Linked DNA regions of Homo sapiens: region 1 is linked to region 2. The links are contacts of gene promoters, found by promoter capture Hi-C in blood cells and fetal thymus (Javierre and others, 2016). All regions are on one chromosome and are shown on one strand. Each heading gives the region's core, a stretch centred on a gene start or on the middle of the fragment in contact. The rest is flanking DNA. Distances are from core to core; before and after follow the strand shown.

Evidence for each region. Contacts are between HindIII fragments. The CHiCAGO score rates a contact against its expected background, and 5 or more counts as called.
Region 1: a fragment that was not itself captured here is called in contact with the fragment with the promoter of CRMP1 in region 2 in 1 of 17 cell types (total B cells); the score reaches 5.4 in total B cells.

What each region holds. Positions count from the first base shown.
Region 1 is chr4:4,484,404-4,491,858 of GRCh38, forward strand. The region is part of intron 1 of STX18 (syntaxin 18); the gene reads right to left. Among named protein-coding and RNA genes, the nearest start is that of STX18-IT1, 6.4 kb to the left of the region's middle. RefSeq lists a silencer at 4,091-4,210 and an enhancer at 5,718-5,897. The HindIII fragment of the contact is 3,702 bases long and covers 1,832-5,533 here.
Region 2 is chr4:5,888,066-5,894,838 of GRCh38, forward strand. CRMP1 (collapsin response mediator protein 1) reads right to left here and starts at 5,021. Exons shown (of 14, transcript NM_001014809.3): 1 at 4,524-5,021. The coding sequence starts at 4,904. RefSeq lists enhancers at 2,138-2,882, 2,883-3,626. The HindIII fragment of the contact is 9,333 bases long and covers 1-6,022 here.

The sequences.
Region 1 (7,455 bases), core at 2,433-4,932, 1.4 Mb before region 2:
TTTACATCGACTAAAATGACTTTTTCCATGAGTGCTGCTGATAAACTAGGTCTTCATTATATGCACATTTTTCCTGGCCTCCTGTCATTTGCAATTCTGATCATTATGCCATTAAAGACATCTATAATGAAAAATCATCATTCAAAAAATGAGATGAAAATGGGATATAAAAAGTAACAAAGAACCGGAGACCCCTCCCTGTAGACAGCCAGCTCAACTAGTCACGAACACCCTAAGGGTCTATTTTAAAAACATTTCCTCCACAAAAACATCACGGAGAGGCTTTGCTAACTACTGCCGTCTAAAAACAAATATTCTCCTCCCCTACCTGCCTAACAACCCAATCCAAAACTACACAATAGGCTGGAAAGACATGGCTCAGGCTTCTGAATCCCTGCCGGTTAATAATGACTACTTTCTTTTCTGTGTGCTTGGAAAACTTTCTTTCATTTGTTCACTTGACAAATATGTAAGACCCAGCATGGGCCAGGCACATTAAGGACGGAGGTAATAAAGAAAAGAGGAAGGGAGGAGGGAGAACAGAACAAGAAGTTCCAACCCAAGGATCCGACCCAACTTCGCACTGCTTTGCGTTTCAATCCAAACCCCATCTGGTCTGGAGGCTGTGTGTGGAGAGTGTGCATGCATGCTGCATTCTTCTGAGTCTCCATACTGCAAAGGATGAAACCAGGTAAAACAGACCTGGGTTCAGATCCCAGCTCTGCCACTTACTAGTGACATGGCTTTGTGTCACTTAACCTCTTCCAGCCTTCATCTCTGAGGTATAAACTTGAGACAGTAATAATGCTGAAGGTGACTACAGGTCACTGATGAAAATAATGTCTGTGAAGAGTCTGACACTGTGTCTGGCACACAGTAGGTGCTCAACTACTCTAAGTTTTCTTCTTCATTTCATCACTATTTCAGTCTCACCCATAGGGCAAGGTGAACTTTAGTGCATAAGGTGAAAAGCATACACAATTCAAATGACAATTTTAAAAGGCCACAAGGCCACTCTGGACTTCAACACATTCTTGCAATGGGTTCAAACCAGCCAGTGCCCCCAGCCCAGTGTTGGAAAAGACTGCCATTTCTTCAGTTGTGAATCAGAGGAAGTGGCTGGTTTGAGTTTAGGAGACATGATGACAGTGAAAATGCTAGACTCGCAGGCAGTAAGCAAGATACTCTTAGTAGAAGAGGCCCTAGGGAACAAAACCAATGATGGGAACGGCAGATTCGCAAGCCCCATCTCACCCTCACCCCAGAGCTCACACACGCTGGGTGGACGGCAGGCACTGCTGAAACAGGCATTTCTTTTCTGCCAAGCACACATAGATAACCTCCTACCATTAGGTTTCTGTGGGATGCACCTACAGCGTGCAGCCTGTCCCTGCCCTGTCCCCTATGCGCTCTCCTCCGTATCTTTTCTCCTGCTCCCAAAGCTCTCCTTTTTCTCGATGCTACTGGTACTTTCCTGCACGGAACAGTCTTTGACTCACCACACACTTTTTCTGGGATCACTGCTTATACTAGAATTCCATGAGCAGCCTATATCCTTTGCTCTCTTAGAAGTACGAGTGGTGGATGGTCAGCACGCAGGCAGAGGGCGGGGACAGCGCCTCCAGGCACATGGTAACTCCCAGCTGGTTCTCTGACTTTGGAGTCACCGGGTGATGTGCAATTCCTCACTTGTGTGCTTTGAAGGTTGCATGGAAAGAACCCCCAAATGCTTTCCAGCTCAGAAATTCCAAGATAATTTTTGGGTGTTCAATCAATTTGAAAGCTCCTACCACCAACCCCGTCAGTTTCTTTCTACTTTTATGCTTTCCAAAGCTTCCAAAATCATTCTAAGGCTCCAGGTACATTTGGGATTCTAGTTACTGAGGTTATCAGACTTAGGGCATTTCAGCTGCAGAACTTTGGAAAGTCTGCTCATAAGAAATCAGAAATGTCATTCACATGTCAATAAGATGGAGGTAAAATAGACAAGAAAAGAATTACCTTGACAATTCATAACAGACAACGAATGTGGATACATTATAAATGTTTTTGAGTGAATATGCAACAAAAATGATCACCGCAAACACTATTATAGTACTTACTATATGCCAAGAAGAATTGTAAGGGCTTTTTACAGATTATTGCATTTAATCCTCATTATAAACTTAGGAGGCAGGTACCCCTAGGATTCCTCTTTTACAGAGAAGAGAGGCCAAGTTAACTGGCTTGAGGACTCATTAGGAAGTGTCGGAGCTGTATTTGAAATTAGGTCTACTCCATAGCCTGTATTCTTAACTTTTCCTTGCTCTTAAAATTCTTCAGAACCTTGACAAGAGGGGCGAGAGGAAAAAACATTTTACTCATATTTGAGTTCCTCAAAATATCAACTCTATCTTTAAAATTATTTACATATCTTCAAAAACAAATAGTGCAAAATTCATATTTGAGTTTCACTTTCTAAGAGGGGACTATATTTTAAATTTCTCCAGTGGCCTTACACAGAGTCACGAACATCTAAAGTATAGTTCTTGACCTTTTTAGGGGCACAGATGCCTTTGAGATACTGACAAAAGCTATGAATCTGATCTCTTCTATAAAAGAAATAAACATATACACAAAAACAAAAAACTTTCTGCCTGTCATTTTGAGCTTCAGAGGCTTTTGGTTCATGGAGCTCAGGTTAAGTGCCTCTGATTGTAAACACTGTTCAACACACACACACACACGAGACACACGAGGGTACACTCTTTCTGTAAACATCATCTGCATAAGGAAGAACTTTGAACTTTCTAGCTCAGCACCCGCAGACATCTGCTGGCCATCAGTGGGGGTTTGTCTGCATGGTCACACTAAGCAGGGATCTGGGGCCTGCAGGTGGTGGGGAGACTGAGTGCACCATGAGAACCACCTACACTGAATCATCCAAATCATCATCATAATAAACTTCCAAATCATCATCATAATAAATCATATTGAACATTTAGTGTTTCCTATGTGTCGGACACCATGTTAAACCCATTGTATAGACTATCTCATTGAATCCTCACAACAAATGAGAAAACAGATGAGTACACTTGCCCAAAGGCACACACCTGGCAAGTTGAAAAGCCAGGGTCCATACTCTGGAATAGACTCTAAGCCTGTGCTCTTAAATTCTTCACTCTATGCCTCCAAACTTGGGCTCTCCGAGGATAAAACTCAGTGAAGAACGAAACCAAAGAGGTGTTACCTGCAGCCTTCTGTCGCCTCCCCCCTGCCAAACCCATGAAAACAAACCCATCAATTTTATTTAGCAGTTTCTTCAAAAGCATTTGCTAAATGTCAGAAAATATTAAGCAAAAAAATGTATTTATACCCCAACATAATACATCCCACATCCCAGGAATACGCTCACTCTTTTTGTGTTGAAGAATTTTAAAACTTTAAAAAATTCTAAGTCCAAAAAGAACTATGTCTTCTTCACTTTGGATTCCCAAAGCCTGGCATAGTTCCTAGCTCAACAAATGTCTAGGAACATTCAACAAACGAAGAGGTGATACATTTTATCAAGAATTTGACATTCTAAAATAAATATCAAGGAATGGCTGTACCTAAAATTTGTGGTCATGATGTGTTAAAAGTTGTTTTTTTTTTAAATGTGGAATTGTTTCATCTAATTTTTGCAAATATTTTAGTACACTCAAAAGGCATATAGTCTCTATGACAAGCAGGTAACAATTTATGACCTACAGTTTATAATCAGCAGCAACTCCTCCTCTCGTGAGGTGAACAGATTAGCAGCATAGTATAAAGTTTGTGGCAACAAACAGGTTCTATCCAAAGCCGTCTCTTACTACCGAGGTTGAACATAAGCACTCAAAAACACAAAATTCCCAAAGACTAAATACTACCCTACTGACATTTAAAAAAAAAAGTTTTGTTTGAATTATAATATCAGCTTATAAGAATGTGGAGATGTCAAGCACCAGTACATACACCTATAGAAGTGCGAAAACTACAAAGAAAACCGACATATCTCACAACTACTCCCAATCTCATTCTCCTGGGGTCCTAGCGCTACTTAAAAATATGTGCTAGGACGATTAAAAATCACTTATTTGCAAGACAAGGGCAAGAGTTACATCAATGTAGACGAAATCTCCTACACAGCCCATCAAGTATGGGTCCCATCCACTAGGTGGTGCTCTCCACCACACTGTTCCTCAGTGAGCAGTACAGTACATCAAAATGACAACAGCCTAGTTTTAAGATGATTTGTCTCTTGAGGATATACATTTGGTTTAAGTTTCTACTGCAAAGTTAAAGTTCTTAAGATAGGTCATGCAGACCAATTGCTCCTGTAATCTGAAACTCAAAAGAGCAAGTAATATCTAAACAAGGGGAGGGGGTGGCCCTGAGCTTATAAGGGTCTCTAAGAGCCAGGAGACAGTCAGCCTGGCTACCTCTAATCTCACCATCAAAACTGTTACCTTGTTCATTTTCTGCTTCACATCAGCAAAGAGAATAGCAAAAGCAACTTCAAGCGGCCCATAGCAAGAACATACATTCAACATCCATTCTGCTTGTCAGATGTCAATAATTTAATCTCAACTGCTTTGTTATCATTCAAACCCCAAAAGTAGAAATGTTTTTGCTTTACTCAAACTGATTTTTTTTCTCTTTTAGCAAAAACAAAAGCAAAGGAATGAATGTTCATTTTATCTCAAAGTTCTGAGAAAGAGGGTTTGGTAACAAGATATATGTCCTTGCCTCCAAAGTCATCTTTCAACTAAGTGAATGGGAATAAAATGCAGAGTATGCTGGCCTTGACCAATAATACAAATGTCCAAATTCCAAGCAAAGTCCAGGGTCTTGCTTCATCATTCCCTGTCCTCAAAAATATACAGATCCCTTTTTTCCTTTTTCCTATAATGAGGAAAGTCATTATGATCGTCTTTGGAGTGAACAAGGCAAGAAACTCAAAGCACTTCAATACACATGCAAAATAATTTTTTTTTTTTTTTTTTTTTTTTTTTTTTTTTTTTTTGGTAGAGACGAGGTCTTGCCATGTTGCCCAGGCTGGTCTCAGACTCCTGGGCTCAAGCAATCTGCCTGCCTCAGCCTCCCAAAGTGCTGGGATTATAGGCATGAGCCACCACACCCGGCCAGAAAATATTATTTCAAGAGATAAGTTACAGAACTTTCTAACATCTTCTTTGTTTGGAAATAAATGAAAAGGTAAAACTTAGTGGTTTCTAGAATTTAAAGAAACTAGCAAATTGCCAACAGCTTAGTTTTACAAAATGAGGGCTCAACTGCTAAAAATGGATTGCTCCTTAAGTGTACAAAGTAACACAAAATAATCACTCCGTAACATAACATTTGCCGGAAAAAAATGTGTGAAAACTACTAGAAAAATAATAGTTAGGTCCTGAGCAGTATATTAAAGATCTTGATTTTGAGACTCAAATTATATCTTTTCATTCTACATGAGTTCTTACTTTCTTTGGACAAAAAATTTAAGGTCCTGTATCTGAATTCAGCTCAGTGTGAAAGCTTTAAATGTAAAACTAGTATATGCAATTTAAATCCCCTTTAACAGTTTTTCAGACAATTAATTAGGTAAAGCATTTGAAACACCATACATACAAAAAATTTTCATTCATATTGCAATGAATTTCACTCAAAATCACATATCGAACTGTAATAAATTTACAATAAAAATGTAACACTAACTGCCCCCCACAAATACATATACACTTTTAAGAGATACACAGTCATGTACCTAAGAAAGGAAAGTAAAACTTGACAATGTTCAAGAAATCTTTCGAAAGCTCTACAGCATTAGTCAGCATTATCTGATCAAATATTAGCATGACCACTATTTTCAAAAGGGCCCATATGTAACAATAGCCAAAGGGGCATCTTCCTAAACTTACAGTATTACTCTAATAGAACAGACAAATTTCCTTAAGAATTGGAGTTGTACTGAACACAAAATGCCGATTTGCAATTATGAGGTCAATCTCATAACAATGAGATTTAAAACAAATTTCAGATTACGGTTTTAAATTTCTATTCATTCTCTATACAGTGGTATATTTCAATAATTACATAAACTGAAACGTTTTCCCTCCTATTTTTTCTCCAAAAGGTTCTCTACAGATGCTTACTTCGTAAAATGCAGCTTAAAATTTATTGGAAACTAAGAATTTTTTTACATGGAATCTATAAATACATGCATAATTTCTGTGCCCATAATTGGAAAAGGGCACAGAGGCTCCTATAACAATCACTAAGGAAGCTCTTAAAAACAAAAAACTTCATCCATGTTCAGGCTGAAGAATTCACATTTAACCTTTATTTTAAATTACAGCCAAAGTCTTTGTTTCAAATCCACATAAATCACTGTTCTTCTCTCTGCAAATACATTTTAGAGAAAACATTATTTAATGTTACATCTGACTTTAATAGAGTTTCCCATTTGCTTTTGCATGTTTATTATCAAACTCTAATCATGACATTTCCAAACTTATTTATACTTTCACACAAACTTCCGAAGTTTTCCCAACTTAAATAAAAACCCACAAAAACTGTGGGAAATGTTTTGCTTGAAAGATAAAAGCAACGTGGTCCAAATGTACATTTGTAATAATCAGTGTTTACTTTTGTTGTTCAAACATTCGGCTTATAGCACTTTCAATATACGCATTCAACTTAATTTTCTTGTCTCTTAAAAAAAAAAAAAGAAGGAAAGTGTTTTCTTTCCCTGTTTTGCTCTCAAAATATAAACTCATTTAATGCAAAGCATTCCCGGATCAGGCATGTTTTAAACTACGAGCACGTCTAGCCTCAACAGCATTCATCCATATTATATACAAAATGCCATTTCTTTCAAAACTTCAGTCTGGACATTTTATAAATCTAATTTCACTTTTCCTAAAAACATGAGGATATTTTACTATATAAGGCTCAATTAAAGTTTTAGTAAATAAAAATAACAAAAGAAATGATACCATAATACTAACGTAGGAAAAAGGATATATATTAATTTCATTTACTGAAAACGTTGAGGGTTTTTTCCTTGAAGTGTCTCTACTATAGATTTTACACTACATTTATTAAAATATGACAAACCTTTAACCTGGGAACAATTTACCAGTTAACATCATCTACCGAAAGAGGAAGTATACTTTGGGTAAGTAAGACACTGGAAACGATTTATGCTGCCTTTTTTCAAAGCTGCTTAGAAAATGGCTATGTACTTTTAAAAAATAATCATTAAAAACAGTCTAACGGTTGTCTTGTGATATCGTTGATCACAAGCCTAGTGATGCCACCTAATTCTAAAGACTGAAATGTGCCTCTCAAAGGGATCTAGCGCAGCCACAGTGTAATATACGTTAAAGGTAATGAAACTAAAAAGTAAGATTTCCTAATAGAATGAACATATTTTAAAGTTTTTATGATTGACAA
Region 2 (6,773 bases), core at 3,771-6,270:
GGGAGGGGGCTGAAATCCCGAGACCGGCCCCGCCCCACCCGCGGCGACGCAGGAGGCCTCGGGGGGCGCCCCTGCCGGCGCCCCGTGGATCTGGACCCTGCCGGGCGCCCACTCCCAGCCCACAAAGGCCAGCGCGGGGCGGCGGGGGCGGGGGCCGCTTACCGTGATGTGCGGGATGCTCTTCTTGCCCTGGTACGACATGGCCCCCTCTGGCGCCCTCGGCCCGGCCGCTGACCTGCGGGGCTGTCTGACTGGAACCGGCGCTCTCGGCCCCGCTCCCAGCGGGCGCGCTGACAAAGGCCCGGGAGGGATAGAGACACGGACGGAGGCTCGGCGCCCGTGGATGCCCACGCGCGGCTGCCCCGGCTGCTCGGCCCGCCCGCCGCCGCTCCGGCTGCCAGCACCGCCCGGATCGGCGAGGAGGGCGGGAGAAGGAGGAGGGAGAGGCGAGGGCGGGAGGAGGGGGCTGCAGACAGCTCCTCCCGGCGGCGCGGAGCGAAGCCGGATTCGCCCCTCTCGGCTCGAACCAGGAAGCGCTTCCCTTCCGATCTCCCACCCCGCCCCCCGCCCCCCACCCGCCCAGCCCCGCCGACCCCCGCCCTGCGCACACGCCCTTGGCGGGCCCTGGCCTCGCTCTCGCGATCCAGAGAGTATGGTTTTCAGGGCTCCTTTAAAAGAAAAAGACGGCGCGGTCAGGGCCCGCGGGCGGCGCCACAGGTGTGTGGCCGCGCGTCTGGAGGCCTCCCCGGAACATCTGCGGGGGTGTGGGGGGAGGGAGTGTGGGACGGGGGCCAAGGATCGGCCCAAGCTGCTGGGAACGTTCTTGTCCCTCCAGGATCGCGCCCAAGGACCGCTCCCCTCTTGCCTCTCCTTCCATAGCCTCCGTTTATCCTTCCCGAGTGCCTCTCCCTGAATGCACCAAGCACTTTTTCCATCTCGGACCCCAAGCCTTTATTCACGCTGTACCCTCTCCCTGAATAGTCTACCCCAGACAAAAGCCTGTCCACTCCCCTAGACCCATCTCCAATGCCTTCCCCACCACGAAGCCTCTCCCTGCCACCCTCTCCATCCTAGCATTGAACCAGCCCTCCCTGGGGGCCTCTAAGGTGGAGCCCCCTAACTGGCAGAGGGAACAGCAGGGACAGAAGGGTACGGCCTTAATTAATGCTGACCTGTTCTACTCCAACAGCAGCTCCCTCATCACACAGCAGCCTGACACTGGGGCCACCAGGTCACCCCACAGAATTGCCTCCAAGACAGCAGGTGTTTGGAGGGCTGGGCCACTGGCACCAAGGTCTCCACAGCCCTGGGGACAAGCTGGGGGTCAGGAGGAGGACTAGGGTGCTCCTGCCTCCCAGCACTGTGGACACCAGCCCCGGAGTCCATGATCCAGATGTTGCTCCAGAGGGAGGTGGGCAGGAAGCCAGGTCACAGCTTGACAAGGTCCGTAACAGCAGAGGGGAAAAGATGAAAGAAGATGGAGGAAAAGGGGGAGCCCCAGCAAGCCCCAACCTCACTGGACAGGTGCCCCAAGTTCCCAGGCAGAATAAAACACCAACCTTGTCCACCACTTCGTTGTTCATTTTCTGCATGCGAAATCCAACCCCACAGGTCCTATGAAACTACTCATCTTTTCTGCTTTCAAGTTGCCATCCAGAGCGAGGGTGGCCTAGGCTTGGTACAGCTCCCCCAGCACTGTGGTTGGGGGCTGGGGCCCTGACCTTCACCACCCCAGGGGCCAGTCCCCTAATCCAGGGCAGGAGGCCAGAGACACCTGGGCCTTAAAATAGAGGTGAGGTTTTAGCTTCACAGAGAAGCCAGCTCAGTATCCCAGGAACACTAGGCATAATTTTCCCATTTTACAGACAGGAAATTGAGGCTTACAGAGGTAAAATGATGTACCCCGGGTGCAAAACATATTAGCTGCAGCAAAGCAGCATGGAGATGCCAGGTTCCCCTACACTCTGTTTACAACTCATTTCCCTCCACGCATTCATGCATCCCTGGCTCTCAGCGGGGCCTAAAATCCCTGTCAATGACCGGAAATTGCAGATGGGGACACTGTCCCTCCCCAACTCCTACACTCCCTTCCTTGGAGTTGTTAAGTCCTAGGTTCCCCGTACCAGGGCGTTCCCTGGGGTCAGTCTGGAGATCTGAGCAGAAAGCCCCTACAGCAAGGGACAAGACCACGTGCGTATCAGGGGGAGGAGCATCCGCCTGCCACTGGCCAAACAGATCGCTGCTCCCAAGCAGATTTCGCCGGTACAAAGCGCCGCAGCCGCTCAGCCTCCGGCAGCGGCAATCCTTGCGCCTGCGCCGCAGAAACCCCTCCTGCAGCCCAGGGAGAAGCCTGGTGGGCGGGGGGGGAAGGGCCGGGGCACCCGTTGCGAAGCCCTGGAGCGGTGAGGCCCGCCCCGGAACCCGAGCCCACTGTAACCCAAGCCTCAAGGCCGCTCTGCCGGCAGAAAGTAAAACCCTCCCTCCGTGGAGATCGCGAGCCCCTGAGTTCCACAGTCGCGAAGCTCGAGTGCTTTCGGAGCCCCGGGAGCGCCAGAGGCGCTGCCTTTTGTCCGGTGCCTGAGAAGCCATGGAGAAAGGCAGAGGGGACCACAGGGAGAAGAGGAAGGAGTAGGGGAGAGGAACGGGAGAGGTGAAGCGACCAGCGTCCCCAAGGGTCAGGGCGCAGCTGCGGGGCTGGCCCAGGCTGCGCCCTGGGGGAGATGCTGGCGTTGGTGACATTGACCGCAGTTCCAGAGGAACTCTCCTTGGGACAGCTACGGGCCGTGCACAAAGCGCCCTCGCCTCCCTAGTACTCCACCACGCTTTGAGGAAGGCCGGAAGAAGACGGCCACCCCCATCTGACAGATGGAGAAGCTGAGGCCCAAGAGAGCAAAGCGCCTTGGCTGGAAACCCGGATTCCCTGGTGCTGGTCCCGCTTCTCGGCCCGCGGCCCAGAAGCCTCCCCATCGGGCTCGGGAGTTTGGATCCCAAGAGAGGTCGGACCACCAGGGAAGGTAGTGGACAGGGGGAGATACAGAAGGGGTGGGGGAAGAGGAAGCTGGACTCTCGCACCATCTCCCTTTCTGATCACCCCACCACCACACACACATACACACACACACACACACACACACACACACACACACACCCTTGCTGTTGGACCTCTCCCTCGCGAGGCTCCGGCTTCAGGACCACGGAGAGCTCTGGAGCAACAGCCCGCCCGCGAAGGGATGGGGCCCGAAGAGGCCCACCACCGTGTTTACCAGTTCCCTGCTCCTATTCCTCCAGGAAGCCCTCCCAGATATCTGCCCCGATCAAGCTCTGCTTCCCTCCAGGCTCACTTTGGGTCACTCATAGCATTTAAGAGGGGAAGGTTTAATTAAAATGATAATGATTGTAATAAAAGTCAACAACAAACATTTATTGAATGCTCACTACCGACCGGCATTAACTGATTTAATTCTCACAATGAATCCGTCGCTCACCCTAGCCTGGGAACTTCTGGAGGGTGGGGCCAGGTTGCTGAGCCAGGGACCTAGCGCCTACCCTGGGCCTGGCACCTAGCAGTTCTCCGGCATCCAGGTCTGGACCAATTCGAAAGCTCCCCAGCCCTCGGATGCTCCAACTTCCGTTTTTCTGGCACCTGACCCTGGCTCTCGTCGGTCCATCCAAAGGCTACGCCGTCCATCCGCCCTTCTTCCCCCAGTTTCCTGGTGACCCCCAGCTCAAGAGAGAATACCCGCAGGGCCCAAGCCCTAGCGTTCCCTCTCCCTGATCCTCCCGGCCCCATGCTCAGGTCCGGGAGGCCAGAGACCCCAGTTCAAATCCCAGCTCTACCTCCACCTTGCTCTGTGAAGCAGGCACATCGGTGTGTGCTGTGGAGCTCAGGAGTGCCCCTTGAATCTACTGGCGCTTGAGGGTAGGGGTTTACGGCTCCAACTGCCCGACGAACTAAATCCTTAACCAAATCCTTCCCCCCAGCAAGCATGAGGGGAGCGCTCGGAAAAAAAGCTCCTTCCAGCTTTAAGCTGTGTGGCCGCAGGCGACTCGCGGAACCTCTCCCGGGGCCCGGCACACAGTAGGTGCTCTATAATTACTACCGACTGAGTGGATGGATGAATGGACCAACACGGAACGGAGCTCCAGTTCTTTTCACAAAACAGAATGAGGGGCCTGGGTTAGATTCATCCCAGAGGTTCCTTCGCGTTTAAGCGTCCATGCGGTAGCTTTAGCCAACTTCCCCTCTCAGAACCTCTCTCCCTTTCTGTAGAAGAGGAGCCGGGACTGGACCCGGGCGATCCCTTCCGAGTCTCACGGACCACGCCGGCCAGCCCCGACCGAGTCGCCCCAGCTCTGGGAACCTCTTGCATGATGAGGTGGGGGAGGGGCCGCGCCGTGGCTCTCCCCAGCCTGGCGGCCGCTGCCCCAACACCGGGGCCCGGGCATGGCCCTCGGGCGCCCCATGCCCTGGGTCCTCCCGGGGCCCGCCCCCCTCGTCTGGCCCGCGCGCGCCCCGAGGGTACCTGGCCATTGTCCCGGCCGAGGGGCAGGTCGCGGGGCGCGGGGCGGCGGATGCGCAGCGTCGGCGGCCGCTCGTCGCGCTCTCCGGGAGAGCTGACCGCGGAGCCCGAGGGCTCGCTCACGTCGCTGGCCGTGTCCTCGCTGCCTCCCGGCCCTGGCAGCCCGACCGCGTCGGGCCGGCCAGCGCTGCGCGGCGTGCGCGCCGAGCCGCGGCGGCCCACACTGTAGGCGTCGAAGTCGATGGTCTTGTTCTCGTAGGCGCCCTCCACCGCGGCGAACATGCCGCCGTACTTCTGGCGCGGGGTCTGCGCCGCGCTGCCCGGCCGCGCCAGGTACACGGGCAGGTCGTCCTCGGTGTTCCACGCGCGCCGCCGGTCCGCCATACCCGTCCAAGGCCGGCCACCCACCGCGCTCCCGCCTGCCCGCCCGCGGCCCTGGGCACCGCCGTGCGCCGCGCTCCGCGCCTCGGTGCGGGCCTGCGGCGGCCCGGGCGCGACTGCGGCCCAGGGAGGGGAGGGGCGGGGCGTGGCGCGCGCCGGGGCGGGGCCGGGGCGGGGCCTCTGGGCGGCTGCGGGCTAGCGGCGCGGCCAGCTACAAAGGACCAGGAGGCGGGGATCGCGGCTGGGGCGGGGAGGGACGGTGACGCTCCCGAGCCGCAGCGCGGAGGGCGGGCCGCGGCACCGCAGTGCCCTCGCCGCACCCCCCACTCTCCGCCCCCAGGCGGAGCGCAGGGCGCGAGGAGAGCGCGGGGCAGGAGCCGTGTGCGTACACTCGCGCGCCCACACGCTCTGGAGGCACACGCGGGTTCATACCTGCACACCAGACAATTACGCCAAACACATGAGAGATGCACAGACATGCTGGCACACACACGAGAGTCAATCACACATGCTCTCCAGAGATACACAGGGGCTCGATCATGCACACCATACTCAATGTTGCACACACATACACATATATGCTTGTGCACATTCCGAGTTCATTACAAACACACAACAGAAATCCTCATTGTCTCACAACCCCACTCACACACAGTATCACACCAAGATTAATTGCACAACTGGAGAGGCACATGCGTTGGACACACCGTTCATTCCGTCAGTTTTATTTTGCTGAGCGCCCACTAGTGCCTAGCACTGTTGTAGGAGCTGGGAACAGAGCCATGGACAAAAGAGACCAAGTGCCTGCCCTCCAGGAGCTGACCTGCTAAGGAGGGGAATTGGATACAAAAGCACCCATATGGTGGGCCAAGAGGTGGTAAGGGCCAGGAAAGGTGGTGCAGCAGCCAAGAGGGACATGCTAGAGGCACACTCCGACAGACACATAAGAGAAGCACATTCTTGCATGAGAATCAGCGACACACACATACACGTGCACGCCAATGACACCACACAACACACCAATATCAAAGGCAAGCTCAGGGCGATTCCACACATGTGCATCATAAACTGGCAACAGGATGCCCACACACAAGTCCACACCAGTAATAAAGGAAGTCAAAAGCTTAAATAAAAACGCTCCAGAGAAAGACACACAGAGACAGAGATGACCACACACACACAGCTGGCAGTCAACCAGACAGACAGATATTCCCTCATTCGAGGGGCACAGTCCACTTTTGTTGCTCCTGGAGCTTGCAGTCTGGGCGTTCTGGGGTTTCTCTGTCGTGGAGGTCGCTCTGCTGGGGCTCTCCTCTAAGGCCAGGCACCACCTGCCTCCTATAGACACCTTCCCTTATTTCTCCACGATTATCAGGCAGAGGATCCTGCAAGTCCCTGGGGACCCTACAGTCCCAGCTGCACTTCCTGGAGAGGCAGAATCGCCAGCTGCCGACCCCCTCCTCGAGCCAGTCTAGACAAGCAAAGTCAGGACTGGGTGGGGACTGCAGAGGGGAGCATCAGTGCTTCTTGCAATGTCCCCCCACCCATAGCCTTCCATGCTGGGAGCTGTCCCTTCAACCCCGGGCCCTGCCAGCTGCAAGCCAGAGCTCCCGCAGCGTGACCAAGCTCCAGGAATACCAGACAGACAGATGGATTCATGTTCTTGTTTTATGACTCTTGGGCCCCATGGACTGAGGATCCTGGGGCCGTCGGATCCGTGGCCTCAGCTGACACCTCCCTGAAGCTACTGTCTTTCAACCCTGCAACAAGGGGTCTGTGCAGCAGGTAGGTATTTTTACCGGCCCCCTCTTGGAAGAGGAAACAGGAGGGGAGATGTGAAATGGCTCCCTCAGGGCCTCAATCTCAAGGAGG